7 separate regions of the Homo sapiens genome follow, and all the other regions are linked to region 1. The links are contacts of gene promoters, found by promoter capture Hi-C in human tissues and cell types (Jung and others, 2019). All regions are on one chromosome and are shown on one strand. Each heading gives the region's core, a stretch centred on a gene start or on the middle of the fragment in contact. The rest is flanking DNA. Distances are from core to core; before and after follow the strand shown.

Region 1 (3,903 bases), core at 1,342-3,841:
GAAAATGTTAAACTTATCAAGGAAATGAACGTCAAGTTGCACCCCTCCCTGCTGCAGAATAGCAATCCCGCTGTGGGCGAAGTGAAACTGGACTTCAGTGAGTTCCCAGAACGAATTTTGCAGACTTCGGTGCACTCCTGGGCCTGATAACCGATCTGCCCGTGGAGCTGCTAACACATTCCCCCACTTCTTAGGCCAGTCCAAAACCGCAAGACTGTGCCACCACATTGCTGTTAATTTCACAGAAGGGTTGGCATTCTGTAGTCTTGACTTAAAAGGAAGCAAGGAAGCACTTTGCTGGAAAACTGACTAAATGTCTTGTGAGTTTGAGGAGGATTTTATGCCAAACTTTGGCCTCATTTAGCTTGGAAGGAGACAGAACGCTTAAGATATCATGAAGGGGATTTTATTTTTGTATCAACTTTATGCCTTTACAGGCTTCAATGCTATTACAAAAAAAAAATCAGTGATTTTAAATGACTATTACAGGATCTTCTCTTCCAGGCAGGTTTTGGTCAGGCAAGGACCTTTAAACATTATGTAAAATATGGTTGATAATATTCACACATTAAAAAAAAGGTGTGTGTCTCCTCACTGGCTCCTTAAGTCTGCAAACATAATCTTAAATTATGCAAAATTGCCTGCTGAACTCGCCCTTGGGTTACAGACACGTGAAGTAGTGTGGGCAAACAAACCAAAATGCCCTTCGATTTCTCTCTGACCAGGGCAGCAGCAGGCCCCTTTAGACCCAGAGGCTAGACTGGAGGGCAGAAAGGGCCGGGGAATGGTGTCAGGCCTCCCAATACCCACACAAAAGGAAAGGGCTTTAAGTTTTTCTCTCTGAGAACAAAATAAAACAGACAACACAACATCAACAAAGAAATAAGGATGTTCCAGGAGGGTTTGAAGAGTGAGTTTCTTGCAGTAGAGTGCCTTTTTTTTTTTTCTTTCCTGCTCCCTGCAGGGATGTCTGTGCTCCACTGAAAAATTCTGTCTGTTCGGGAGGGAACCCAGGATGCAGACCAAATGCAAGACCCATGCAGATGCCCAGGTAAGCTGAAATTTCCTGCCACCGGGGCAGGGCCTGGAAGTCTGTGCATACATTTCTAGGGGAACTAACTTTTCGTCCAAGCCGTAATAACCGACCAACCGACTGTTCTGGGAGCAGAGAAATAAAGGGAGGAAAAAACTCTCCAACAGCTTAGGGGAGGAGGCCCCCACTGCTTACCTTCCCGACTTGGTAATGACCATCTCGGTGCCCCGCTTGTGAAACTGATCCCAAAGTTCTTTAGCCTCCAGGTGCACCTTGGGGTCGTCCTCCACCTCTTCTTCGGGCTCCATGGTCTTCAAAGGCCTCAGATGCGCCTGGGGCCCCAGGGAGGAGAACGGGATGCCGGTCTCGGCCGCCCCCACCAATTGATCCATGATCGGCTTGGCCAGGGCGCCCGGCAGCGAGAGCGCCGCCGCGCCGTTGGGAGGCAGCGTCAGCGCGGGGAAGAACGGCGGCTGGTGACCCAGCACCGCGCTCATGGCGAAGTCCGGCGCCCGGTGAGGTAGGAACGGATGGTAGGCCATGCTTGTCCCAGGAATGACCGGATCTCTCATGGAGAGGCTCATCCACTCCAGGCGGGGCGCTGGGCTCCAGCCGGGGACAAGTCCGCAGCTGCTGTGTTTTGTTGTTTTTTTGTTGTTGTTTAACAGCAGCACATAATTCAAAAGGGGGGAAAAAGCAAAACAAAAAAGAAAGAAAAAAGAAAAGGAGGCAGAAATCACAACTAATGCACTTCAAAGGGAGGAGGGGAAGTGTCTTTTGGAGAATGGGAGGCCGCTTTTAAAGAGGGCAAGGCGAAAAATCAGCAAACATAGTCGCGCGGGTGACCGTCCTTGTGCCTTGCGTTTTTAAAAAGCCGCTCCTGAACGTCGGTTTCAGAAGCGAGAGGAGCGAGCAGGGTCTCGACTCGCGCCCGAGCCCTGCCGCTGAGCTCGAAATAGACACTCCAGCCCTGCGTCCCAGGAATCTCTCTCCAGCCCCTAGGTCTTTTGTTGCAAATGTGAAAGGTTCTCCTAGAAGACTTTTTACCTTTCTTTTTCTTCTTCCCCCGCCCCCTATCTGTCTTCCTCTCCCTCTTTCTCGCTGGTGGCGTCTGCAGCTGTGCTAGACCCGGCTTTAACAGGGAGCGAGAGAGCGGAAAAAGTCTCTCTCCTTTAAAAAAAAAAAAATCTGATTTAAACCCCCTTCTACCAGCGCTATCAAAACTTGAATTGCAAACTGGCTTCCGTTCGCCGCCCTCCTCCTCCTTCCTCTGCTCCGAGCCTCCGGAGGGTGTCTCGGTTTCAATCCAAATCTTGCTGGGCTCTTCTCCCGTGCCTCTCTCTCTTCCTTGTCCTAAAACGTGAGCGAATTCGCTTCCTAAATCTGTGTCCAGGCGCGCAGGGCAGGGAGGATTTAGAGGGGGAAAAAATGGAACAGAGGGAAAGAGAGGGAGGGGAGAGAGAGAGAGAGAGAGAGAGACGGAGTCGGAGAGGGAGGGAGCGAGAGAAAGCGAGAGCTCCTCGCCACCCTCCGCCGCCTCTAGAATTCACCGGGCGTCTGCTCGGCGGCTCTAGAAGGTCGGGCTGCGCTGTGGGCTGCGGGGAGCCGGAGGCCTCTTGATTGGCTCTTTGACGCTTTCGGACCAATTGTGTTGCTGCATAGGCGTGGTTTTCACAGGTCGAGTGCTGGGGGATAGAGCTGAGTTATAAAAAGAAGGTGTCGGAAACTGTAACGTCGCAGCGCCGCATCGGTACTACTGCCTGTCCTGTGAATATGTCAACATGATCAGAGGGCGGGCGGGAGCCACTGGGGAGCGCGCGCGCACAGAGTCGCCTCTAGGTGGCTTATCGAGAGATCGCTGCAGCCCCTGAGCTCGCTCGCTCGCTCTGGTTCAGCCCACGTCTGAAATGCCTCAGTCATCCAGCCGGGGATCGAGGGAGGAGGCAGGGCCAAGGAGGAAGGGGGAGGGAGAGAGGGAGGGAGCCAGCGAGCAGGCGAGCCGGGCGGGGAAGGCGGAGAGCGCGCCCGGGCGCCGGGCAGGGGCGCTCGCCTCTCTTGCACTCCGCTCGCCTCTCCGACCGCCGCGGCCGGTTCTCTCTCCAGCTCTCCTTCTTCTCCCCGCCCCGGGCGAGCCGGGCGGGTGGCCGAGCCTCCCCGCGAGCTGCCATCCGGCCACTCGGTTCTACAAAAGCCGGCGGCAGCCGAGAAGCGAGCGCCGAGACTCCAGGCTTGCGTGCTCTCCAGCCCCACGTGGAGCCAAGCTCCGCCCGGCCGCCGCTGAAGGGCTCCCGAGCTCGGGTGTCTCGGTGCTGGTCTCCCCTGCGTCTGGGCTGGGGGAGCACAAGGATGCGGCCATATCTCAGCACACGCATGTGTGGGCTTCCTCTCCACTGCGCCCCACCCGCAGCCATGTGCGGGTACCCAAACACCCCCGGTGTATCTGTACTCGAACACGCGCCAACACACTGGGACTGAAACACACACCGAAAAACACGTACACACAAACACGTACACAGCCTGCGCGGCTGGCCCTGCCTGAGCTCCTGGGGAAGATGGATTTGGGATTTTTATGAAATGCATTTACCAGCCCTTTTGGATCTCGTCTTTCATTTGCATGCGGGCCCCCATATTCCACCTGGATGTGGGTGTGGGTGTAGAGAAGAGAATGGAGGATCTGGACAAAGCGAGCACAGCGAGAGACTGGGTTCTGAGCCTGTCCCCTCCAAGCCGCTGCCCTCACCTCGAGGCCCGGCTGGGTGCACAGCACAGGGTAAGGGGTGGGCGATTGGGTTGGGGGAGGCGCGCCAGCCTGGTATCTTCTCTAGGCATCGCACTTATCTCTCGGTGCCTCAGTTCTTTCTCCACCCCGG
Region 2 (3,883 bases), core at 1,145-3,644, 700 kb after region 1:
AGGTCAGGCCACAAGCCAAGTCTGCAAGTAGCACAAGGAGTGACTGATTGCACAGTCAGTGAAAGTTTTGGACAATTTACCAGTTCAGGAAAACTACACCTACAACAAACTGGTTGCACCACCTTGTTTAGAATGAGCATCCACTGCCTCTACCACTCACGGAAGTGCTGGAGTTGACATCTAGGAAAACATCAAGGCTCCTGGGGACTTAGGGAGAGGGCACGCTGGTATATTTACATGTTCCTTGATAAAAATACAGCCCAAAAGACATGTTTACCACTGAACTTCAAAACCATTCCGAAGATACCAGTCACTCTTCTACTACAGTCAAAGTAGACCTTTGAAGACTTCTCAGAGAATTTAAAATCTTGAAGGGCCTCAGTGTTCTCTCTGGGGATGTCAAAGATATTTGTCAGAACTGGACAGGGCAATGATGAAGCAGCCTGGGATGCCTTCCTATACCCAGCAAAAAAAAAAAAAAAAAAAAAAAAGGCTTTGTTTTTTTTTCTTTCTTTTCTTTCCCTAATTTCTTATATGAGCATATTCCCCGTGATTCATTTTTTCCCTCTTAAGAGGTTTCTTTGGCCACCTGTGTTCCTGTGGAAATAGCAGCAATGCACACTTATTGAGCAAGCCCTATAGCTAAAAAAAAGTGTGAATCCCTTTGTATGATGTGTCATCCCCTTTACATTCACAACATTCCAGGCCAGGTGAGGTGTCTCACACCCGTAATTCCAGCCCTTTGGGAGGCCAAGGTGGGAGGATCACTTGAGGCCAGGAGTTTTGAGGCCACTCTAGGCAACAAATCAAGATGTTATCTCTACAAAAAGTACAAAAATTAGCCAGGCACGGTGTCATGTGTCTGTAGTCCCAGCTACGCAGGAAGATCGCTTGAGTACAGAAAGTCAAGACTGTAGTGAGCTATGATCCCATCACTGCACTCCAGCCTGGGCGACAGAGTCAGATCCTATCTCTTTAAAAAAAGAAAAATGAGCAATATACCTGTGAGTTGGTACTAATAGGTAATTGTGCCCATTTTACAAATCAAAATGCCAAGGCACTTGCCCAGTGTCAACTCACTGCATGAATGGAGGTGCTAGGTTTGGAATCAACATCTATCTCCAAAGCCCATATTCCTACCCTCTGCTATCCTGTCTCCTAACACTTTATTCAGATCTGTTTTTAAAAGTGCCTAACACAATATATATGATAATTTTTCCTGTTATGTGTCTGTTTCATTTGGTAACAGTAAAGTTAATGCTAACCACCATGTATTAAATAAGCACTTACATATATCAGGTACTGTGCAGGTGAATGTATACGCATTTTCTCTGATCCTGCTGACAGTCCTGTGAGTTGGGTGTCAGGTGCTCCATTATACAGATGAGCAAACAAGTTCAGAGAGGTTAAGTGTGTGGCCCCAGGCTAAGGAGCTCGTGAGCGGTAGAGCCAGTTTCATGAATCAGGTTTGATGGGCCCAAAGCCCATGTGCTTTGTCCTGTGCCTTAGCAACTCCCACTGGCTGTCAGCTTATCAAGGGCCGGGCTGGCATTTTATGTTCTTAGTGTCTCTGCAACCCAGCAAAGTGTCTGGCTGTGAACTAGGTGAACTGCAAAAAAAAAAAAAAAAAAAGTAGAATCAAGGGACCAAGTCAGTCATCCCAGTGCTCTGCTAAATATAGAGTTTAAAGTACAAGCTGGTGCAAGAACAAAGGAAAAAAAAGATGTTTATTTTTTAATGGATCAATTAGAGAAAGTTGAAAATAAGGAGTTATGCTCATCTCTTATATGCAAATGACTGAGTCCTGGATATGTATTGGAGCCCAGCAAATACGTGTTGAATGAATACACTCATATAAAGAGATCAACACTCAGATATTTAGTAGGCATCTCAAACTTGCTATTTCCACAACTATACTGATTATCGTCCCTGCATAACCACTCCTTCTGCCATCTACCCCATTTCCATAATTGCAAACTCTATCCTTCTCATCATCCTCAACTCCTCTTTCTCTCATGCCACGTGAATCCAGCAGCAAGTCCTGCCTGCTCTACTTTCAGGGTATCGCCCGAAATCTGACCACGTCTCACCTCTCCCAAGGCTACCTCCCTGGTCCAAGCCACCATCACCTCTCACTCGGGATGTGGCACCAACCTTCTTACTGGTCACTCTGTGGCATCCCGTACTCTCCACTTCACAGCCAGAGGGATCCTGTTACATCCTAAACCAGACCATGTCACTACTCTATTCAAAATGAGCAGCATGCTCCAACCTCATGACATTTGCACTACAGCCCCGTCTGCTTGGAATTCTCTGCTACAGAAATCTGCAAGGCATACTCCCTCATTCCCTTCCTTCAGGCCACCGCTCTGCCATCTGTCACCTCCTCAGTGAGCCTTCTCTGAATACCCTTTATCAAATAGAACCCTCTCCACTACCCCAGCACCCAGCCTTCTCTATTTTCCTTCACCTGCTTTCTTTTTCCCCATAGTCATGTTCCATTTGTATCTATGTAACACCTATGATGTACCAGCACATAAACTTCACAAGGGCAGAAGTATGTCTGTCCCAGCGAAATCCTAGGCACCCAGAACAATTCTGGCAAGGAGTAAATATTTGCTGAATGAATGAATAGTTTCTCTTTGCTCTGGAACATGTAAGGATTAGTCCAGAAGGGTACACTATTACTGAGATCAAAGTTGTTCCATAGAACTTTCCAGAATGATGGAAATGGTCTACATCTGCTTTATTCATCCAATACAATAGCTACCAGTCGCTATGTGGCTAGGAGCACTTGAAATGTATGTAGGACAACTGAGGAATTAAATTTTTTAAAAATTCATAGACCACTTTTTAGAGCAGTTTTAGGTTTACAGAAACACTGAGCAGAAAGTACAGAGAAAAGACAGTATTTTTTATTTTATTTTGTTTTAGTTTATTTAAATAGCCATATGTGGCTAGTGGCTACCATATTGGACAGAAGTGACTTAGACTGAGACTAAGAAGGAAGGCTCCTGCCTCCCTCACCGCTGTGTGTGCATCAGTCCCAGGAGGGAGCCTGTGGAAGGCCTGCCACGTTTTTCCTCCTAAGGACTCACCAGGGCCCCAAAGGCGGAGTCAGCCTTCCAAGCAGAGAAGTTTGCAGATCAACCTCTAGGAAAGAAGAAAGCAGACAGTGCAGCACAGAGAATCTTCATTGAAGATGTGCCAGTTGCTAAGGGAGGCCCCTGGCCAACTCACGTACATGTACGTCTTCTGATGAATGAGCCTTAGTGGGCCCCGTCTAACTCATCTTCTTCGCACATCCTCACCCCCTTCCACTCCTTTATGCTCTTCCTTTCATCTCTCCTCATCATCCCTGGGGCCCAAAATTGTTTCCTGTGCTTTACAGCTGGACTAAGGGACACCTTGGGCCCTTCTGCTCAAATCTGGCTTTTGGTTTCCATAACAACTAGTAAAGCACACAGCACTAAATACAACAAAGATTTCTCTCTCTCTCTCTCTCTCTCTCTATCTATATATAAATATATATATAAATATAGATAAAGAGTGCACACATCTATATATATTCACACACATATATACAGCACACACATGAATGAATGCAGACATACACACACACACACACACACACGTATATTCACTCACATATTTAAGGGTAAAGTGCAAGAAGGGTAGGAGGACTGAAGTCCAAAAAAGAAAGTAAATAAACCTTGACAACAAATAGAGACCATTCTAGGGAAGAGCAAAGGGACATGGAGCTGCCTATAATTAGCAGCCGCCACATCCCAAAACAAAATCAGACGTTCAGGCCTTGCAGCTTTGTTGCCATAGAAATGGGGCCCAAGATCCATCAGGCTGTCTTCCTAAAGCGATTCCGTCC
Region 3 (4,272 bases), core at 1,120-3,619, 570 kb after region 1:
GAACTCACAGTTCCACGTGGCTGGCGAGGCCTCACAATTACGGTGGAAGGCAAGGAGGAGCAAGTCACATCTTACATGTGTGGCAGCAGGCAACAAGAGAGCTTGTGAAGGTGTGAGACTTATTCACTATTGTGAGGACAGCATGACAAAGACCTGCCTCCATGACTCAATTACCTCCCACTGGGCTCCTCCCACAAAATGTGGGAATTTAAGATGAGATTTGGGTGGGGACACAGCCAAACCATATCAGCGGGGGATTAACATGGTATAAATAGGGTACAAGGTTAGTGTTCCCCACCATCGTGGTAGAAATATGGCCTCATTCTACGGATCCTTTCCTTGTTTCTCTGAAACACTGATATTCCCACATAAGCACTCTCTAGAAGGCATGGCCAATGTCTCTTAGTGCAGCTGTACCACCCTCCTCATGTTGGAGAACTTCTCATATGGAGAAGCTGGTTAGGAGAGAGTGTCTGGGGAAGACTCCCTGGGTTTGAATTCCAGCTAAACTAGTCAGTAGCTATATGATTTTTGATGACTTACTTAACCATCCTAGAACAGAGATTGTTAACCAGTGATAACTTTGCTCTCCAGGTGACATTTGACTGGAGACAGTTTTGGTTGTTCAAACTTGGGGATGAGAATACCACTGGCATCTAGTGGGTAGAGGCCATAGAAGCTTCTCAACATACTACAATGCATAAGAAAGCGCCCCACAACCAAGAATGACCCAGCCCCAAATGTCAGTTAGCGCTGAATTTGAGACTCCTATTCCAGAAGCTTCAGTTTTCTCATCTATAAATTCATCTGTAGTGTTTTCTCCATAGTAAAGATTAAATGAGCTGTAATAGATGCAAAGACATACAACAGACTATGACATATTGCAAAGCACTTGAGATAAATATTATTATTCCTTTGATTTTTATTCCAAGATTTAGAAACATACAATCATCCTGAGCTTGCAGGCCATACCCAAACAAGATCATGCTGGGGGCTGGATCTGGCAGACCCTGCTCTAGCCTGAGGTTGGAGCAGGAGATCTCAGAGGAAAAAGCATTGTGTTACTGTCTCCTTTCCAGCTCATCCTCCCCGACAGCCACCCCCTCTCTCTCCCTCCCCTCTTAGCCAAGCTTGGAGACTGGATGCAAAAGCCATTATTAAAAAATGAACATGAGTTGTTTTTTCCCCTTTTTGATCAAATAATCCAGTTTGCTGCCTCAGACAAATCATTATTCATGTGGAACCTGCCTGTGCCGCCCTTGGGGAGGAAGACCAAATTGATTTAACATCTAATCCAGTTTGTACCTCCTGCTAACCCCAGTGGTGTGCTAACTTCACCCTTGCAGGATAGGGAGGAAGGAGGTAGGAGAAAGGAGGGGGCAGAGGGAGACACAAGGAAATTAACCCAAGGCGTAAGTCTAAGCCCAGCTTTCTACAAAAGCAAGACAGAGACAAAGCCTGTCATTATAGTGCCCAGTCTTTCTGTCTTAGGCTTTCTCATACTCAGAGATATGTTTTCCTCATCCGTCAGCTCATTAAAATAATAACAACACAATCGAAATGCCAGCCTCTTACTCTGTGATGAGTGGAATCCCTGACATCAAGAGGCATCATGGTGCCCATTTTCCAAGCTAAGGAAGCTGAAGATTACAGAGATCAAAGAGCATGCCATGAGTGCATAGAAAGTTCTAGAACCAGGACTCACCATCAGCCCTGTCTACCCCCAAAGCCCCAAAGCCATAACCACCACATAAACAGCTTTCTGGATGTAGGAAGGCTGTTTGGAAGGATTCTATAGCTTTTTTCCATAAGGGTCATCCACACACAATGCTGCAGACACGTTTGGGTTGCCTGTGTGTGGTGGTTGAAGGGTCAGTTGATCCTGATTATTGCTGGATCTCTGAATTTCCTCCTTTTCCTCACTACTAAGCTTATCTTTCCATGTCTCTGGACTGGGGAGGCGGAGATGGAGGATATAAAGCAGTTTGCTTCCTCTGGATGGAAAGGTAGTGTCCTATGGCACTGGGCAGAGTCCTGGCCTCCGAGGGAACCTCAGAGAGGTCAGTAGCACTGACATGTCTCTGGCTGTGTCCCTCTTTAGTAAGTGGCACATTCTGTGACTGTTGTCCTGAGCCAGCAAGCGGGAGACTTGGGATTTTACTCCAGGTCTTTCTGGCTCCAAGCTGAGGTGCTCATTCCATTGGGTGGCACCGCACCCCCCACCCCCACACTGACTGTTCTTGTTTCCTCTCCTGTTCTGCATTAAAATTTGCACTTAAAAATGGCCTGAAATGTCCATACTGAGGCACCGTCTTTCAAGTGCAAACAGAAAGCAGCTTGAGACAAGCTTCAGGGAAAGAGGTGAAAAGGATAGGAAAGAGAAGGAGATGGAGCAGGCATGGGGCTGCCTATGCCCTAGGTCTCAGTTATAAGGGAGAGAGGGAGGAGGAGAGGAAAAGAGAAGGAAGAGGAGGAGGAGGAAGGGAAAGAGGAAGAAAAGAGGAGAAAGAAGGGAGAGAAGAAGGAGAAGAAGAGAGAAGAGGAAGGAAGAAGATGAGGAGGAAGAGGAGGAGGAGGAAGGGAAAGAGGAAGAAAAGAGAAAGAAGGGAGAGAAGAAGGAGAAGAAGAGAGAAGAGGAAGGAAGATGAGGAGGAAGAGGAGGAGGAGGAAGGGAAAGAGGAAGAAAAGAGGAGAAAGAAGGGAGAGAAGAAGGAGAAGAAGAGAGAAGAGGAAGGAAGAAGATGAGGAGGAAGATGAGAAGGAGAGAAGGGGAAGGGAGGGTGGGGAGAAGAGAGGCTTTCATATGGACTTTGAGAGGAGAGGTAAATCTGGTACTGATAGGACTGCAGGCATCAGAGTGAGTTGGGCATCAGGCAGCACCCCAGCTTTGTCCAGCACAGCGCAGCTCTGATGATAAAGTCCACAGTGAATGTGGCAGGAATGGGCATCCCCAGGGGCTGGCAGCTTTGGGAGGACCAAGAAACAGTGCTTGAACAGAATTGGTGTTTTGTGTTGGACTCCAGCAACCTGGCCGTATGAGATGGAGAGAGAACCTCCCACAAGGCTTTGGAGGCAGCCCCTTAACGGGGGTCATCATAATGGGAAAACAGATTACTCTTCAAGAATGTGTGCGAGGCAACCGCTAGGGATTCCAGAAATAACTGAGTGAGTCATTACGCATGGGAACCCCAAGCTGCACAGGTGAGAACCCGGAGATGGCAGTATTTGAGAGTCAGTGTTAGTGAAAATAACTTCACTGAGCCCTCATCCAGGCACCTTGTGTGTTAATACACTTAATCCTTGGGAAAAGGGAGCATTACCCCCCACTGTTTTATAAAAGGAAAATGGAGGTCTGGTTTATGTCATCACTTAGTGGCAGAGCAGGGATTTGAACCCATGCCGGTGGCTGCCTGGCGATTTCTCTGACCCTCAGGGTTCTTATGCCTGGCTCTGCCCTTGGCCTTATGGGACTTAAGGAAATGGAGATCACATTTGTTGCTCAGGATCTACAGCTCTGGAAGGAATCGCACCAAGGCATCAATGGCATCAGCAGGGCCAGAGGGCCCAAGTCCTCTGCATGAGTGCAAGCCATGGCGGTGTGCGCGTGGGTGCATTTCTTTATGGGCTTGTGGGTGCTTTTGTGTGTGTGTTCTTGTGTGCTTTTGTTTGTTTCTGTGCGCATGTGTCTTTCCATATGCTTTTGTGTTTGTTTCTGTCTGTGTGTTTGTGTGTGCATTTGTGTTTCTGTTTCTATGTTTGTTTGTATTTTGTGTTTGTGTTTCTGTGTGTTTATACATGTATTTGTGTGTGTTGATATGTGTTATTTGGATGTTTGTTTATCTTTTTGAGTCTTCATTTCTGTGTGTGTTTTTGTGTTTTTTGTGTGTGTTTGAATGTGCCTATGCCTGTATTTGTGTTTCTGTGTGTTTTTGTTTCTCTGCATGTGTGTGTTTCTCTATGGGCATTTCTATATGCTTTTGTGTTTGTTTCTTTGTGTTTCTGTGTATGTTTTTGTATCTCTGTGTATGGGTTTGTGTTTCTTTTTGTGTTTGCTTCTACCTGTGTATATGCATTTGCGTGTGTGTGTGTTGGCGTGTGTTTGTTTATATGTGTGTTTATATGGGTATTTGTGTCTATCTTTTGTGTTTGCATTTCTATATGTGTTTGTGTGTGTCTCTGTGGGTTGTGTGTATACTTGTGTATGTCTTTTGTGGAACTGAGGCTGGAAGACAGAGATGATAACTAACACCAGAACAGACTTCCCATAGAGAC
Region 4 (4,091 bases), core at 178-2,677, 810 kb after region 1:
ATATTTCCCGGGGGTTACTGTTCCAAGCTTTCTCTTCTAAAGATCCTGACAATGACCTTTCTGCTTAAAGGCTGTTCTTGGAGATAGAATTCAGGAACTTTCGACTGAGGCTTTGAATCATGATACTGGCATAGGGGTCAGGTAAGAGACATCCTACAAGAACAAGAGATAAGGCATACTTGTGAGGACATCAGAGGCCATAATCAATACCCCACATCACACTCAGAAGGAAACCCCCCGGGGCCAAGAGGGGGTCTGGTGTGCTTGGAAGGCCAGGAAAATATCCATGGTGCCTGGCTGCTGGACGGAGTTTCAGGGAGGCAATTTCTCTTAGAGCTGTATGAAGAGAAGAATCAAAAGGAACCTGAGTTGTTAGGAAAGGTGCTTAGAGAGGGAGAAGGATTTTAGCTATAGCAAAACCACTAACTGCTAACTGTGAGCTTACTGTGCATGAGGCACCCTGCTTTGCTCTTAACATGTAATATTGTGCTGAATCCTGGATAGAGCACCTTGAGGATGTCATTTTATGTTCCCCCATTTACAGATGAAAAGTTTCATGTAGGTGGCAAAGTGGCTTGCCCAAGGTCATGCAGCTAGTAAGTGGTACAGATAGGACAAGTTATGATAGATAAGCAGGAACAGAAAACGCATTTCGTGTAACAGGGATCTATGAGCGAAAACCAAGAGGCTGAAAGTGCATGGTATAGTGAAGCCATGAAGAAACCAATTCAAATAGATCAGGTGGTTCATGGAAGGGGATGGGATAGGAAAAAGTAAGTCCAAACCACATAATGGAAAGCATTGAATTCTGGGGTAAGATCCTTAGACTTTACTCCAAAGGTAGCAAGAAGCCATGGGAGGTTATTGAGCAGGATTGTGACACAATAAAGGAAGACTTGGGGACATTTTTCCTGAGCAGGCTGTTTAAAATGGATTCTCCAAGTTATTATTGGCCCCATTGAGCAGATGAGGAAACTGAGGTTACAAGAATTTCATGAGCTTTCTCAGGTCATAGAGCTAGGAAGTGGCAAGAGCAGATTTGAACCTCGGTTTTTTGTTTATCCCACCGCATGGTAGGCAATGGTATTTCCAAGATTTAAAAAGTCACACACATTAAGTCAAAATGTCATTAAACCCTTGGCATAGCACATCATCCAGGTTACCATGATGTCAGGCGAAGGACGATCAAGAAGAAGCCAGGGTTTTAGTAGTGGTTGCAGGAGCAGGCCTTTTTCCAGGGGCCTACATGTGGGGCACACGTGTAGGTTAAATTCTGAGGGCAACTTTCTGAGGGCTACCTGCATGCATCTTTGCCAAGACTGATCCCTCAGTGACCTATGGTCTTACCTGCCTCTCATCCCTGGGGAGGAGGAAGAAGCAGAAAGATGTCTCCATTTGTCACCCTGGTAAAGCAAGTAGGGATGTGAAAGCTCCAAGACCGGGGAGGGCCCCAGAGGCCAGCATTCTAAAAAATAATTGCTCTATTATTTAAGCAAAGCCACTTAATAGCTCATTAAAGGGGCAAAGACGATTATTGCCCAGATTTTTATCTGGGGAATCTCATAGAAATGCCAGAGTCATATTTCCAGGTAACCGAAGAATCTGAAAAGTACAGCAAAAGCTGAATCACAAAAATCCAGGTCACTTTGGCTGACGACTTTTTCCCCTCTTGAGGGGTTCACTGTACTTGGGAATGACCATAAATGTAGCCAAAGTTATCGAGCATTTCATATTCAACAGGAATTGTACTAAATGTGTGCCCATCATGTCTTGAGGCTTCGCAACAGCCCTACACAGAAGGTGCATTTAGTAGACCATTTTACAGGTGAGGAAACTGAGACTTGAAAAGGTGATGTCATCACTTGCCAAAAGTAACTAGGCTAGTAGGTAGCAGAACTGGGACTCAAAAGTAGATGGTTTGTCCATTCTGTTCTCAACAGATCTTAGCTTCAAAGCCCAGTCAAGGGGATCTTCAATAAATTCTGGGGGATAGGTGATCATAGCTTTCTGTCATCCAGGGCTGAAATTACCAAGGAACATGACAACAAAGAACAGCCAAACTGATATGGATGTGGAAAAGGGTAACAGACCTTGTGTTTTGCCAACCTTCATTTTGTAGCTCTCTGCATTGACAGTCACATTTCACCCAGCCAGGATCCTCCCTCTTCAAGTAGCCTTCCCTGATCCACTGGAAAGAACTCACATCTTCACCCTTGGAACTACCCATGTTGCTTACAACCTTGGCTCATTCATTGCAGACTGGGCTTAAAGCTGGAGAGACAGGAGAGTAGAGAAATATACACAGATAGGTAGACACTATTTGCTGAGCACTAACAATGTGCTAGGCACAGTGTCAAAGACTTTATGCCAAGGTAAGCATTGCCAGCTCATATTATAGAGGAGAAAGCTGAAACTCAGAGACAGGAGGTCAGCGGCCCTCATCCCCCAGCCAGTCAACTGCAAAGCAGAGATTCAGGTCTCCAGGTCTCCTGGGCAGGCTGCAGGTCTGTTTGCTAAGCCCACAAAGGGTTAAGCGGTTGCCCTTGACGCTCAACTCTCACTAGGCAGGAAGAGGATAAAGGAGGGATGCCCATTCCATGTGTATAGACCTAGAATCCGCAAACTAAGGCCTGAGGGCCAAATCCACTTACTGCCTGTTTTTGTATGTCCCGTGAGCTAAGAATAGTTTCCACCTTTCTAGAGAGTTGATAACAATAATAATAAGAATAATATTTTGGCTGGGCACAGTGGCTCACACCTGTAATCCTAGCACTTCGGGAGGCCAAGGTGGGCAGATCACCTGAGGTCAGGAGTTTGAGACCAGGCTGGCCAACATGGCAAACCCTGTCTCTACTAAAAATACAAAAGTTAGCCAGTCATGGTGGCATGTGCCTGTAATCCCAGATACTCAGGAGGCTGAGGCAGGAGAATCACTTGAACCTGGGAGGCAGAGGTTGCAATGAGCCGAGATTGTGCCACTGCACTTCAGCCTGGGTGACAGAGCAAGACTCCATCTCAAAAATAAAAATAAGGACTATTTTATGGCACATAAAGGTGATATGAAATTCAAATTTTAGTGTCCACAGATTAAGTCTTAGTGGAGCACAATTACACTCATTCATTTACATATTATCTAAGACTGCTTAGACTTTACAAAGGCAGAGATGAAAGTAATTGTCACAAAGACCATGTGGTGCACAAAGCTTGAAATATTTACTGTCTTACCTTTTAAGGAAAAGTTTGCCAACCTGTGGTGCAGATCATGAAAGTTCAACCTATTGGCATCATCTTGGCAAGTTCAAGGATGTGCAATGGCAGAAAAATCCTGGCTTCTTGGGAAAGGAAGAGATAGAGAAATACACAGACCTCCAGGAGTATCGCACAAGGGGTCACACCCTTAGAGGCAGTCAGGAGCACACAGATATCTAGGCATAAACCCACAGAGAAAAGCAAACATCAAGAGGACATGCAGAGACACACAGATATGGATAAATATCCTAGTGTACACACTCAAAAGCTTGGAGCCACCCAGGTGTAGTAGACACACAAGCATCTAAGTAAACACACACACACATACATAGGGGAAACACACACATACATAGAGGAAACCCTTCATGCACATAGACACAAACTCCCAGGGCCCCAAAAAGAACATGCCAGCTACCAGGTTTACAAATATATGTGATACTACATATGCATGGAGATATATACAGAGCCATCCAAGCACATATACACACACAGAGGGAACCCACAACTGTCCAGGTATGCTCTCACAGGTAAAGAAAGCAATGTCAGCTGCACAAGAATAACACAATAATTCAGAGAGAGCAAGAGAGAGATGAAAGGGAAGGAGGAGAGAAGAGGAATGAGAGAAAAGGAGGGAGGTAAGGAGAGAGAGAAAGAGAAAGAGAAGGACCAGGGACTCCTTTGGGGGCCTGGTGACACCTATAGACCCCTTCTCATAAAAACATTTCTAAATGATTAAAAACAATGCCTGTTCCATTGACATAAAGTTCTCTTCTAGAGTTGTGCAGAAGAGCCACCTCCTGCAATGACCCAAAACCTGTTCCTTCCTTCCAAGGCCTCCTTGT
Region 5 (3,815 bases), core at 680-3,179, 630 kb after region 1:
GAAGGGAGGGAGGGAGGGAGGGAGGGAGGGAGGGAAAGAATGAAAGAAAGAAAGAAAGAAAGAAAGAAAGAAAGAAAGAAAGAAAGAAAGAAAGAAAGAAAGGAAGGAAGGAAGAGAGAGAGAAAAAAGAAAGAGAAAGAGAGAGAGAAAGAAAGAAAGAGAGACAGAAAGAAAGAAAGGAAGGAAGGAAAGAAAAGAAAAGGAAAAGAAAAGAAGAGAGGAAGCAAAGAAATAAAGAAGAAAAGAAGGGAAGAAGGGAGGAAGAAAAGAAGAAAGGAAGGAAGGAAGTGAAGAAGAACCAGATTTTTCAAGGAGTAAAAGACTTGAATAGACATTTTCCCAAAGAAAACAAACCAATGACCAATAGCTATGAAAAGATGCTCAACATCATCAGAGAAATGCACATCAAAACCACAATGAGATCTCACCTCACACCTGTCAGGATGGCTATTGTCTTAAAAAGATAACAAGTTTTGGTGGGGATGTGGAAGAAAGAGAACTCTTGTATAATTTTGGTCAGAATGTAAATTGGTGCAACCACTATGCAAAACAGTACAGAGGTTGCTCAAAAAGTTAAAAATAGGTCATCATGGCTGGGCATAGTGGCTCACACCTGTAATTCCAGCAGTTTGGGAGGTCAAGACAGGTGGATCTCTTGAGGCCAGGAGTTTGAGTCCAGCCCAGGCAACATGATGAGACTCTGTCTCTAATAAAAATTAAAAAATTAGCTGGGTGTGGTGACACATGCCTGTAATCCCAGCTATTTGGGAGGCTGAGGCAGGAGAATCACTTGAATCCAGGAGGTAGAGGTTACAGTGAGCTGGGATGGTGCCACTGCACTCCAGCCTGGGTGACAGAGCGAGACTGTCTCAAAATAAATAAATAAATAAATAAATAAATAAATAAAAATAGATCATTATATAATCCAGAAATCCCACTTCTGGGTGTATATCCAAAGGAATTGAAATCGGAATTGCATTATTCACAATAGCTAAGACATGAGAGCAATCTAAATGTCCACTGACAGATAAACAGATAAAGAAAATTGGTATATACATATAATGAATTGTTATTCAGCCTTAAAAAGCAAGAAAATCCTGCCATTTGAAACAATGTGGATGAACTTGGAGGATATTATGGTAAGTGAAATAAGCCAGGCACAGAAGGACAAGTACTACATGAACCCACTTCTATGAAGAATCTAAAATAGTCAAACTCACAGAAGCAGAGAGCAGAGTGGTGATTGCCAAGCCTACAGGGAGGGTGAAACGGAGAGATGTTGGTCAAATGATACAAAGTTTTGATTATGCCAGATAAATAAGTCCTAGATATCCAGAGGACAACATAGTAGCTATAGTTAAGAATATTCTATTGTATACTAAAAATATGCTAGAAGGATAGATCTTACATTGTCTTCTTATCACAGTAATAATAACCATATCAAACAAAGAGGGCAGAAGGAAACTTTTGGAGGTGATTGAAATGATTATGGTGTTGATTGTGGTGATAGCTTCACAGGTGTACACTTATCTCCAAACTCATCAAGTTGTGTGCATTAAAGATGCACAGCGTTTCAATGTGAGTCATAACTCAGTGATTTGGCTTAAAAATGGACTGACAATAAAGTAAGAAAGACAGAAGTTAGATTTAAAGGGAAAATTCTGGTGCCTCAAAATTGCTGAGGTTCTTGAAATGGGAAAAGGCAATGAGCCTCCTCACTTCAAAGGACATTAGAGATATTTTTAATAACAATATCTTTAATCTCAGGATTCTATTCCCAGCATTGGTCCACCCAATCTCCTTGCTAACTGGGCAGATCCCTGCTTCTAGAAAGAAGGCTGTTAATTCTTTCTTTCTTTCTTTCTTTTTTTTTGAAACAGAGGCTTGCTCTGTCACCCAGGCTGGAGTGCAGTGGTGTGATCTCGGCTCACTGTAACCTCTGCCTCATGGGTTCAAGCGATTCTCCTAGCTCAGCCTCTGAATAGCTGGGACTACAGGTGCGTGCCACCACACCCACCTAATTTTTGTATTTTCTGTAGAGACAGATTTCACCATGTTGACTAGGCTCGTCTTGAACTCCTGACCTCAAGCGATTCACCTGCCTCAGCTTCCCAAAGTGCTGGGATTACAGGCATGAGCCACTGCGCCCAGCTGAAGAATGTTAATTTTTTTTGCTTGTTTTATTTTTATTCAAGATCAAAGTTTAAACAAATGGAGTAATGATAGTTTTTCTAGAAAAACATGAACATCATTATTTGATAATGAAAATGTCTTTACTGTTAAAGAAACACTGAACGCTTTTACACTGTTAGTGGGAGTGTAAATTAGTTCAACCATTGTGGAAGACAGTGTGGCAATTCCTCAAGGATCTAGAACCAGAAATACAATTTGACACAGCAATCCCATTACTGGGTATACCCAAAGGATTATAAATCATTCTACTATAAAGACGCATGCACATGAATGTTTATTACAGCACTGTTCACAATAGCAAAGACTTGGAACCAACCCAAATGCCCATCAATGATAGACTGGATAAAGAAAATGTGGCACATATACACCATGGAATCCTATGCAGCCATAAAGAAGGATGAGTTCATGACCTTTGCAGGGTCATGGATGAAGCCTGAAACCATCATTCTCAGCAAACTAACACAGGAGCAGAAAACCAAACACTGCATGTTCTCACTCATAAGTGGGAGTTGAACAATGAGAACGCATGGACACAGGCAGGGGAACATCACACATTGGGGCCTGTTGGGGGGTGGGGGGCTAGGGGAGGGATAGCATTAGGAGAAATACCTAATGTAGATGATGGGTTGATAGGTGCAGCACACCAACATGGCACATGTATACCTATGTAACAAACCTGCATATTCTGCACATGTATCCCAGAATTTAAAGGCTGTTAATTCTTAACACGCCTATCTCTAGAGGTCAGTCTAGAGATCTCTGACAAAATCGAAGTTTCAAATCATTAATCTCACAAATAAAATGACTCTAAAATTGTTAGAAAGGCACTGGCCATGGTAATCCTATTTAGAAACTAAGAATAAATAAATGTAACTTACAAAGTAGAGCTGAGTGTTAAGGGTAATTATAGATCTTCCAGAGTTTCCAACATATAATAGCTTCTATGACAGATTGTATAGATAAAACAATCTGTCCTAGTTAGGAAGCTAAAAAGCTTAGGCTGGAATTTACAACGCATCTTCCACATTTAAAGTTCTTGCTGACAACAGCTACAAGGCACTGCCTCCTATGTGCCCGGTACAACCCCTGCAGCATGGGAAGTGTCCGAGTAAACACCAGCTGATTGAATAAAAGACTGCTGCGACGAAGTCAGCTTAGGCACTCTGGAAGACCTGGGAGGGGCATGAGCAAAGCAGTCTAGGCCAGTGGTTCTCAAACTTTGGTTCCTGGATCAGTCATCCAGGGAAATTATTAGAAATGCAAATTCTCAGGCCCTCCACCCAGACCTACTGAAGCCGAATCTCCAAGGACGGGGCCCAGGAGTGTGTGTTTCAGCAAGCCTTCTGGGTGATTCTGATGCGCAATAAGAATTGAGAACCATTGCTATAGAACCTTGCTTCTCAAAGTGTGGTCTGTGTATCAGTGGTATCATTGTCACCTGGGAGCAAACAAGAAATGCAGAATATCAGATCTCACCTCGTACTTACTGAATCAGAATCTTCGTTTTAACAACATCTTCACTCAGAGAGTTCATTTGCAACTTAAAGCTTAAGAAGCACTGATCTTGGCCATTGGTTTTCAAACGTAGCTGCTCGTTAGAATCGCACGGACAGAAACTGGCG
Region 6 (3,825 bases), core at 410-2,909, 790 kb after region 1:
TTATTATCTCCGGAATTGTAAAAAAAATTGTAAATATGCATTGTTTCAGGCCACTGCATTTGTGGTAATTCTGTTGCAGCAGCAGTACTAAATTAATATAATGGGTAAGTTTGGGCTGTTCTCCAATCTCAGCCCTCTTAGGCACCCTGAAGAGCTGTGGTCAGTTGCAGGGTGTGACACATAACTTATTTCTAATCATTATTCAATCACTAAAGTTTGGGAATTATTTACTTAAAAGTTTAGGCCAGGCGCAGTGGCTCACGCCTGTAATCCCAGCACTTGGGGAGACTGATGCAGGAGGATTGCTTTAGTCCAGGCATTCAAGACCAGCCTGGGCAACAAGACAAAACCGCATCTCTACAAAAAATAGAAAAAATTAGCCAGACATGGTGGCACATGCTTGTAATCCCAGCTACTCGGGAGGCTGAGAGAGAAGGATTGCTTGAGTCCCAGAAGGGGAGGTTGCAGTGAGTTGAGAGTGCACCACTACATTCCAGCCTGGGTGACAGGGTGAGACCTTGTCTCAAAAAAAAAAAAAAAAAAAAAAGATTTAGAATAGGTTTCTGCATTTATTCATTCATTCAATAAATATTTATTGAACACCTCCTATGTGCCAGGTCTCTTCCTGGTGCTGGGATGAAGAGGTAATTGAGCCAGGTAAATAGCTGCCCCCATGAAAGTGACAATCTAATGGAATGACTCTATGGTGAAGAGGTGAACAGTTGAATGACTCACGTCATTGCAGATAATGATGAGGGCCATGAGGATGCTGGAGAGTGGACCAGAAACTGACCCTAACCCCACCCATGCCCACAACAGGGCACGTTCTGCAGGTCAACATCTCTGCTTAGGAAGCATTGCGGGAGATTCTATGCCAAGGAACATTTGAACCCTGCTGATGATGTTAGGGAAGACACTGTAGGTGATAGCAGAGTCTTAAGGGGGTTGAAGAAACGTGGGGTCAAGCCACTTAAGGGGTGCCCAGGCTACTTCCTATGGGCATCTCACAGGTCTCCTCAACCCAGTGACTTCGGGGCTATACAATAGCACTACCTGGGTGGCTTTTTAGTTGTTATTTTAATTATACAGTGGAAAGACAGTTTGGACATATAAACAAACACTTCTCAAATTCCAGCTGGCACATAGATCCCCTGGAACCTTGTCAAAATGAGACTGGTTCAGCAGGTCTGAGGTGGGGCCTGAGATTCAGTATTTCTTGCCAGCTCCCAGGGAATGTCCAAGCTGCCAGGCCACGGACCACACGCTCTGGATTAGCAAGGGGGTGGACAACCAAATTAGCCAAATTCCACCAACAGCCCCCAAATGGGTAAATCGCCAAGTGCAAAGGGTTAATAGTTATCTTCTTGTAACACCCCAGTAGTTTTCTGCACATGGGCTGCAGGGTACACTTATACTCTGACACTTACTAATTGTGGCATCTGGGGTAAGTTACTTCATGACCCTGTGCCTCAGTTTTTCCATCCATAAAATGGGATCATGATGGTATCTACTTCAGAGAGTTGTTATGAGGATTCAATGAGTAAATACAGGAAAAGTACTGCATGTCGTCAGTGTTCAATGTGTGGTAGCTATCCGAACTAACGTTTCTTCCCCTCTTTAGACCATAGCTTCATAAGGACAAATTTTGCACCTGATATTTTAAATGTGCTCTATGCTGAGCCTGGATTCTGGCACTTAGTAAGTGCTTTATATGTCTGTCACATCAATCAATGGCTTAATGAATGAAAGGATACAAGCAAACCAAATAAATTTAGTTTGTTTTGTTTTGTTTTGTTTTGAGGCAAAGTCTTTCTCTGTCACCCAGGCTGGAGTGCAGTGGTGTGATCTCGGCTCACTGCAACCTCCGCCTTCTGGGTTCAAACGATTCTCCTGCCTCAGCCTCCTGAGTAGCTGGGATTATAGGCGTGCACCACCACACCTGGCTAATTTTTGCATTTTTAGTAGAGATGGGGTTTTGCCATCTTGGCCAGGCTGGTCTCGAACTCCTGACCTCTAGTGATCCGCTTGCCTTGGCCTTCCAAACTGCTGGGATTATAGGCATAAGCCACCGTGCCCAGCCTCCAAATGAGTTTATTTTCAAAGGCACCGTCAAAGGAAGAAAAGGGGAAAGGGGGTAAAGGGAGAAATTCACATTTATTGATTAGCTATCCTGTGCCCAGCATGGCACCAGTTGCTTTTCATACACCATTATAGTTCATGCAGTCAAGAGGCCTAAGACAGAAGAAAGAGAGATCCTGCAGGTTGAGGCTTAAAGAGGCAAAAACACTTGCTCAGGATCTCGTGGCTGTTAAGTGACGAAGGTAGGGTTCAAAGCCATGCCTGCCCAAGCTGGTTTTCCTCACCAACCCTGTGACACAAAACCTTCTCTGACCCCCGGTATTTCCCATTAAGAGAATTAGTCACCGTTGGCTTTGATCGGCTGGGCTGGGCTGGCAATGTAGTCCTTAATGGCATTTCTCTCAGGCCCTTATCTTTATTAACTGTGAATTTATCTTCCTCCAGAGATAGGGCTCTGGGTGAAGGGCCCCCTGCCCACACCTAGGCAAGTCTTACCTGCTCTGAACGGACCAGCAGGTGACTGTGAGTCCTTTAATTGCCTTCTTCCTCACCTAACCCCTTCCCTTAAGTTCAAACCTGCACTGTAAACATGATCTCCAGGACCAAAGGTAAGGGAGGTGAAGCTTGTGGATATTAACCCATAAAAACCCTTGATAAGCCCAGCGCATTTCATAGCACCATAAATTAATTCTTGTCCTTCATAGCCTGTGAGGAGAGCAGAAGATGAAGAGCAAACTGAGGAGTCACGCAAGGCCAATGATTGCACAATTGGCGCCGAGAGATGCTATCTGAGTCGGAACAGAAGAGGCTGACCCCAGAGTGTCCCCTTCTAGCAGGTGAAGGGTTTGGGCCAGATCATCCTGTATGGATTGTGACATTGTATGAATTCGAAAACGAAAGAAAGCGCTCTGTGAAGGGGCATGAAAGGGCTTGTCCAGCCAGCATTTCATGGCCTGAGACAGTTCCTCTTAGAGTCCATGAGATATAAACAGGTGACTTTTTGTCAAGGCAGAGATTTCCCCCCAATTAGATTGAAACCCCCCTCCTCAGGGTGAGCCTAGAATTAGTGCAGTTTTGATAACTCAAAGAGTGATTGAACTCATTTCAGCCATGTCCTCAAAGTTCTGACCCCAGAGGCCACCTAAGTTCGCCATTTTCTGCAAGTCTTATGGTTCTAAAAAGTTATCTCTTATAATGCTTGAAAAGAAGGTTTAAGAATTTTCCAGTGTATGATGGTTCCGAACAAGCAGAGTCATTTCTCAAGAATTGTTTTTGCAAGGTTGTTTACGACTGGCTTTCTCACTTGTTTGCTTCCTTCTAACACAATTTTCTGAATACCGGCCATGTGCCAGATATTATATTATCAGCCACGGTATACCAGATATACATTTATGGCTTCCTGAAATTCCTGACCTAGTGGAGAATAAAGATTAATCTACCAGAAACTATAATACACTGTGACAAGTTACATGATTAGAGAGAAAATACAGTTGGGATTTTAAACGAACCACCACATGGGCTTGCTTTTGCTACACAGCAAATATCTCTCAAATTCTTCATTCATTTGGAGTCAGCAAATATTTGGAGAATACGAAATCACTTCATTAGTAGCTGAATGCAACCTACAAGGTAATCCATATAACACACTCCAAGGCCAATCATCAAATTCATTTGAATATTCCACTTCTTGGGGTTTCGTGCTCATCAATTCCCTACATGTATAGATGGTATGAGATAGCCCATACT
Region 7 (4,087 bases), core at 510-3,009, 890 kb after region 1:
TTGCCCAAGATCACACAGCTAGAAAGTGACAGAGGTGAGATATGAACTCAGACTCTCTAACACAGAGTCAGCAGATGATGGCCCAGGGTCCAAATATGACCAATCACCTGTTTTTGTAAATAAAACTTTATTAGAAAACAGCCCCGGTCCATTCATGTATATATTGTCTGCCTCTGCTTATGCTACAAGGGCAGGGTTGAAGAATAGTGACAGAGACTAGATGGTTCACAAAGCCAAACGTGTTTGCTATCTTGCACTTAATAGAAAAAGTCTGCTGAACCCTGGTCTAACTCCAGAGTCTCCCTCTTATTCACTGTACCTGATGGTAGTTTTCCTGGTAGAATACTGATACACAGCTTCCATTTGAACTAAACTTGCAGTTAAAAAGAGGGGTGGGGAGAGTTGTTCTAGCCCAGCTCTCTTTTGCTTTATAGATGAGAAGACTGAATGCAGAGAAGCTCAAGGTCAAAAGCAAGGTCAGCCTGTACTGAGTATGAGCACACACACATCCCATGTTCTATTTCTTGTGCTCAGTCTGCAAAGCTGGAACATGTTCCTAATTCCCACGCACTCTGGCTGAGTGCTCACATGGAATGCACGTGTGCCCATGAGCTCACGTTTACATCTGAGTGTAGGTGCCCTGGCACATACCACCCCCCCACACACACACAGTGGCCTCTGTAACATGCCCACACACTCAGCTTGCAGATAGACACCCTATCACGCTGCTCTGCACTGTGAAAAGCTACCCTGCCCACAGGCAACCGCTATAACGTACAGACAAGATGCCTCCTTCCTGTTCACTCAGCAAGCACACACAATCGATGGGATAGAATGCTGGCATGTGTCCTCCCCCAACAAAGCTTAGGGTGGTGCAAAGAGGCAGGGGCTGGTGATCGGGGCATCCAATTGGTAGCCCCACATCTGCCTCGGGTTTCTCAGGGCCCCCAGTCTTCCCATGTGTAAAATAAAAGGCGTCAGCCACCGCTTCACATTTTTTAGGTAAATTCATTTAAAGGTGAAATTCACAACATAGTTCTTACTGGAAAACCAGTATCACTTGTCAAAAAAGTAACTACAAAAAAAGCAGCAAGTCAAAAAAGTGACAAGACAATGCATAGAATGGGAGAAATTATTTGCAAATCATGCATCTGATGAGGGAATTGTATCAGAAGATATAGAGATCTCTTACAACTAACTCAATAATACAAAGGACAAAGACCCCAATTTAAAAAACGGGCAGGCCGGGCGCGATGGCTCAAGCCTGTAATCCCAGCACTTTGGGAGGCCGAGGCAGACAGATCATGAGGTCAGGAGATCGAGACCAAGCTGGCTAACACGGTGAAACCCCATCTCTACTAAAAATACAAAAAAAATTAGCCAGGCGTGGTGGCGGGCAACTGTAGTCCCAGTTACTTGGGAAGCTGAGGCAGGAGAATGGCGTGAACCTGGGAGGTGGAGCTTGCAGTGAGCCGAGATCGCACCACTGCACTCCAGCCTGGCAACAGAGTGAGACTCCGTCTCAAAAAAAAAAAAAAAAAAAAAAAAAAAGGCAAAGGACCTGAATAGATATCTTTCCGAAGAGATTATACAAATGGCCAATAATCACATGAAAAGATGCTCGGCCATTAGGAAAATGCGAACCAAAACCACAAGGGAAGAACATTTCATATCCATTAAGAGGGCTGTGATCAAAAAGACAAATAAAAAGTTTAGGGAGAATGTGGAAAAGTTGGAGACCTCCTCTACCACTGGTGAGAATGGAAAATGGTACAGCCACTATGGAAAACTGTCAGTTTCTCAAATGGTGATGACCCAGCAATTCCTCTCCTAGCATATACCCCAAGATAAATAAAAACATACATTCACACACCCAAATTAATTGTATACAAATGGTCATAGCAGCATTATTCATAATAGCAAAAAAAAAGTAGAAAGCCAAATGTCATTAGCTGAATAAACAGAACGTGGTTTATTCACGCAATGGGATATGATTTCACCATAAAATGGACTGAGGCATGGACACATGCCCCAACATGGATTAACCTTGAAAAAATGATGCTAAGTGAAAGAAGCCTTGTATTATTCCATTCATGTGAAATGTCCAGAATGGGAAACCTACAGACACAGAAGGAAAGTAGATAGTAGATTAGTGCTTGCCCAGGGTTGGAGGAGATGGGGGCAGTGGGGGTGATGGCAGAGAGGCATCGGATTTCTTTTAAGGATGGTGAAAATATTCTAAAATCAATTGTGGTGATAGATGTACAGCTCTGTGAATATACTAAAAACCACTGGATTATACACCTTATGCGGGTGAGTTGTATGCTATGTGAATTTCAATAAAGCTGTTAAAAATAAATGTAATGAAAGCAAGTGCATTATTAAATTCTAGCTGGATACAGTTGCCCACTTAAGGTGTTTCACCTGTGGCTGTTCTCATTTTATTAAAAAGAAAGATTAGCAGCAATGGGGAAAATGTTAAAGACATACTCCAAGATGGGGAAACTTTCTTTTTAGTCCAACCGGATAGATTGAAGGAAAGTTGAAAGGGGAAAATGTTAAAGACATACTCCAAGATGGGGAAACTTTCTTTTTAGTCCAACCGGATAGATTGAAGGAAAGTTGAAAAGAGGATAATCTCTACGTGATACAGAGTATTTAATTCTGGTCCTCAGCTCATCAAATCCTATCTCAGGTAACCCGGTAGTACCTGCCCCATCTTTAGAATCATTGAAGATAGCTGTAGCCTCTTACCTTGGATTTTCGCTCCTGCCCTTGTCCCCTTTCAGCCTGTTATTAGCAAGGCTGGCAGGGTGATTGTGTTAAATATTAAGAAGCAATAGTTAGATCACACCCCTTCTTTGCTCAAAACCCTCCCATGGCTCCCATCTCACTCAGAGTAAAAGCCAAATTCTTACGATGGCCACAGGGCCCCATATGCTCTGGTCACCGTGTCTCCCTAACTCTCTGACCTATACTTACCTTCTGTTCATCCTTCTGAGCCCATGGGCTTCCTCACTGCTCCTTAAACACACTCTCTACCTGACCACTCTGGGGCTTTGCAATGCCATTCCCTCTGCTCAGATGCTCTTCCCCCAGGCAACGTGCATGGCTCACTTTTTCACTTCCTTTGAGTGTCTGTTCCAATGTCAACTTAGCAGGGAGGCCATGTCTGACCACCCTATTCTCTACTCCATTTCCAGCCTCACGCAGTTTTACCCCCTTCCCTGCTTTACTTTTCTGCCTAGTCCATATCACGAGCATATTATTTATGCATCTGTTGATGACTTCTTTCCACCAGGATGTCAGCTCCATGAGGTTGGGGACCTTGCCTGTTGTATTCACTTCTATCTCCTAGAACAGCGGCTGGCACAGAGTATGTGTTTTAAACATATACATTCAATGAATGAGTGAAAGGCTGAGTGATTGGAAAATCGTAGACTAGGTGACACTTCAGTATCCCTCTAATCCTAATAGTCTATAATTTAATTCTTGATAATGGAATGTGATTCAACAATTAGAGCTAGGAGTCTGGACACCCATCCTGTAGGGTCCTGTGATTTTTTCCAAATCGCTCATATGGTCTTCCCTATGAAGACCATATTCCTTTCAATTCCCCAATAGGGGTGAACTCTTCCTGCCCAGACCTGCAGAAGATTGCTTAGATGACATTACATATGTTTTATTGAGCTCTCTGGGTGTCACATCCTCTGCACGCATCTCTCAAAGAAGACTAACAATATTAATAATAAAAAGCAACAGTAATACACCGTGATTGAGCACTGACCACATGCCAGGCTCCATTGCAAGCACTTGGCATAATTTATTTAATTCACACAACACCAAAGGATAGGTAGTAGTATTCTCCCCACTTCATGGATGAGGTGACTGAGGCACAGAGAGGGGGAAAGTAGTTCCCAAAGACACACAGTTGGTGGGAGGAGGAACCAGGATTTGAACTCTGGTTATCTGATTCCAGCGATCACATGTCTAACTTCTCATAACACTGGAAGGTGCTATTATTGCCCTAGGAGAAAACTGTAGCTAAAAAATAAATAACTGATTGGATATTTAAATCCAGGTCTTT

The links. Contacts are between HindIII fragments. The study calls those that stand out against the background at their distance.
Region 2: a contact is called between a fragment that was not itself captured here and the fragment with the promoter of TBX3 in region 1, in 1 of the 25 tissues and cell types used here (IMR-90 fibroblasts).
Region 3: a contact is called between a fragment that was not itself captured here and the fragment with the promoter of TBX3 in region 1, in 1 of the 25 tissues and cell types used here (aorta).
Region 4: a fragment that was not itself captured here is called in contact with the fragment with the promoter of TBX3 in region 1 in 1 of the 25 tissues and cell types used here (H1 embryonic stem cells).
Region 5: a contact is called between a fragment that was not itself captured here and the fragment with the promoter of TBX3 in region 1, in 1 of the 25 tissues and cell types used here (heart left ventricle).
Region 6: a contact is called between a fragment that was not itself captured here and the fragment with the promoter of TBX3 in region 1, in 1 of the 25 tissues and cell types used here (mesenchymal stem cells).
Region 7: a fragment that was not itself captured here is called in contact with the fragment with the promoter of TBX3 in region 1 in 3 of the 25 tissues and cell types used here (lymphoblastoid cells, small bowel and stomach).

What each region holds. Positions count from the first base shown.
Region 1 is chr12:114,681,584-114,685,486 of GRCh38, forward strand. It overlaps TBX3 (T-box transcription factor 3), which reads right to left and starts at 2,592. Exons shown (of 7, transcript NM_005996.4): 1 at 1,229-2,592. The coding sequence starts at 1,617. It overlaps TBX3-AS1 (TBX3 antisense RNA 1), which reads left to right and starts at 709. Exons shown (of 2, transcript NR_187552.1): 1 at 709-1,051. RefSeq lists a promoter at 2,594-3,103. The HindIII fragment of the contact is 7,860 bases long and covers 1-3,903 here.
Region 2 is chr12:115,383,892-115,387,774 of GRCh38, forward strand. The region is part of intron 3 of LOC105370003 (a long non-coding RNA gene); the gene reads right to left. Among named protein-coding and RNA genes, the nearest start is that of LINC02463, 500 kb to the right of the region's middle. RefSeq lists a silencer at 3,753-3,883. The HindIII fragment of the contact is 5,625 bases long and covers 1-3,883 here.
Region 3 is chr12:115,248,808-115,253,079 of GRCh38, forward strand. No RefSeq gene overlaps it. Among named protein-coding and RNA genes, the nearest start is that of TBX3, 570 kb to the left of the region's middle. The HindIII fragment of the contact is 3,281 bases long and covers 730-4,010 here.
Region 4 is chr12:115,493,647-115,497,737 of GRCh38, forward strand. The region is part of intron 2 of LOC105370003 (a long non-coding RNA gene); the gene reads right to left. Among named protein-coding and RNA genes, the nearest start is that of LINC02463, 390 kb to the right of the region's middle. The HindIII fragment of the contact is 3,866 bases long and covers 1-3,360 here.
Region 5 is chr12:115,316,469-115,320,283 of GRCh38, forward strand. All of the region lies in intron 7 of LOC124903082 (a long non-coding RNA gene), which reads right to left. Among named protein-coding and RNA genes, the nearest start is that of LINC02463, 570 kb to the right of the region's middle. The HindIII fragment of the contact is 3,067 bases long and covers 397-3,463 here.
Region 6 is chr12:115,472,277-115,476,101 of GRCh38, forward strand. All of the region lies in intron 2 of LOC105370003 (a long non-coding RNA gene), which reads right to left. Among named protein-coding and RNA genes, the nearest start is that of LINC02463, 410 kb to the right of the region's middle. RefSeq lists an enhancer at 1,982-3,181. The HindIII fragment of the contact is 3,603 bases long and covers 1-3,461 here.
Region 7 is chr12:115,576,984-115,581,070 of GRCh38, forward strand. All of the region lies in intron 1 of LOC105370003 (a long non-coding RNA gene), which reads right to left. Among named protein-coding and RNA genes, the nearest start is that of LINC02463, 310 kb to the right of the region's middle. The HindIII fragment of the contact is 8,093 bases long and covers 1-4,087 here.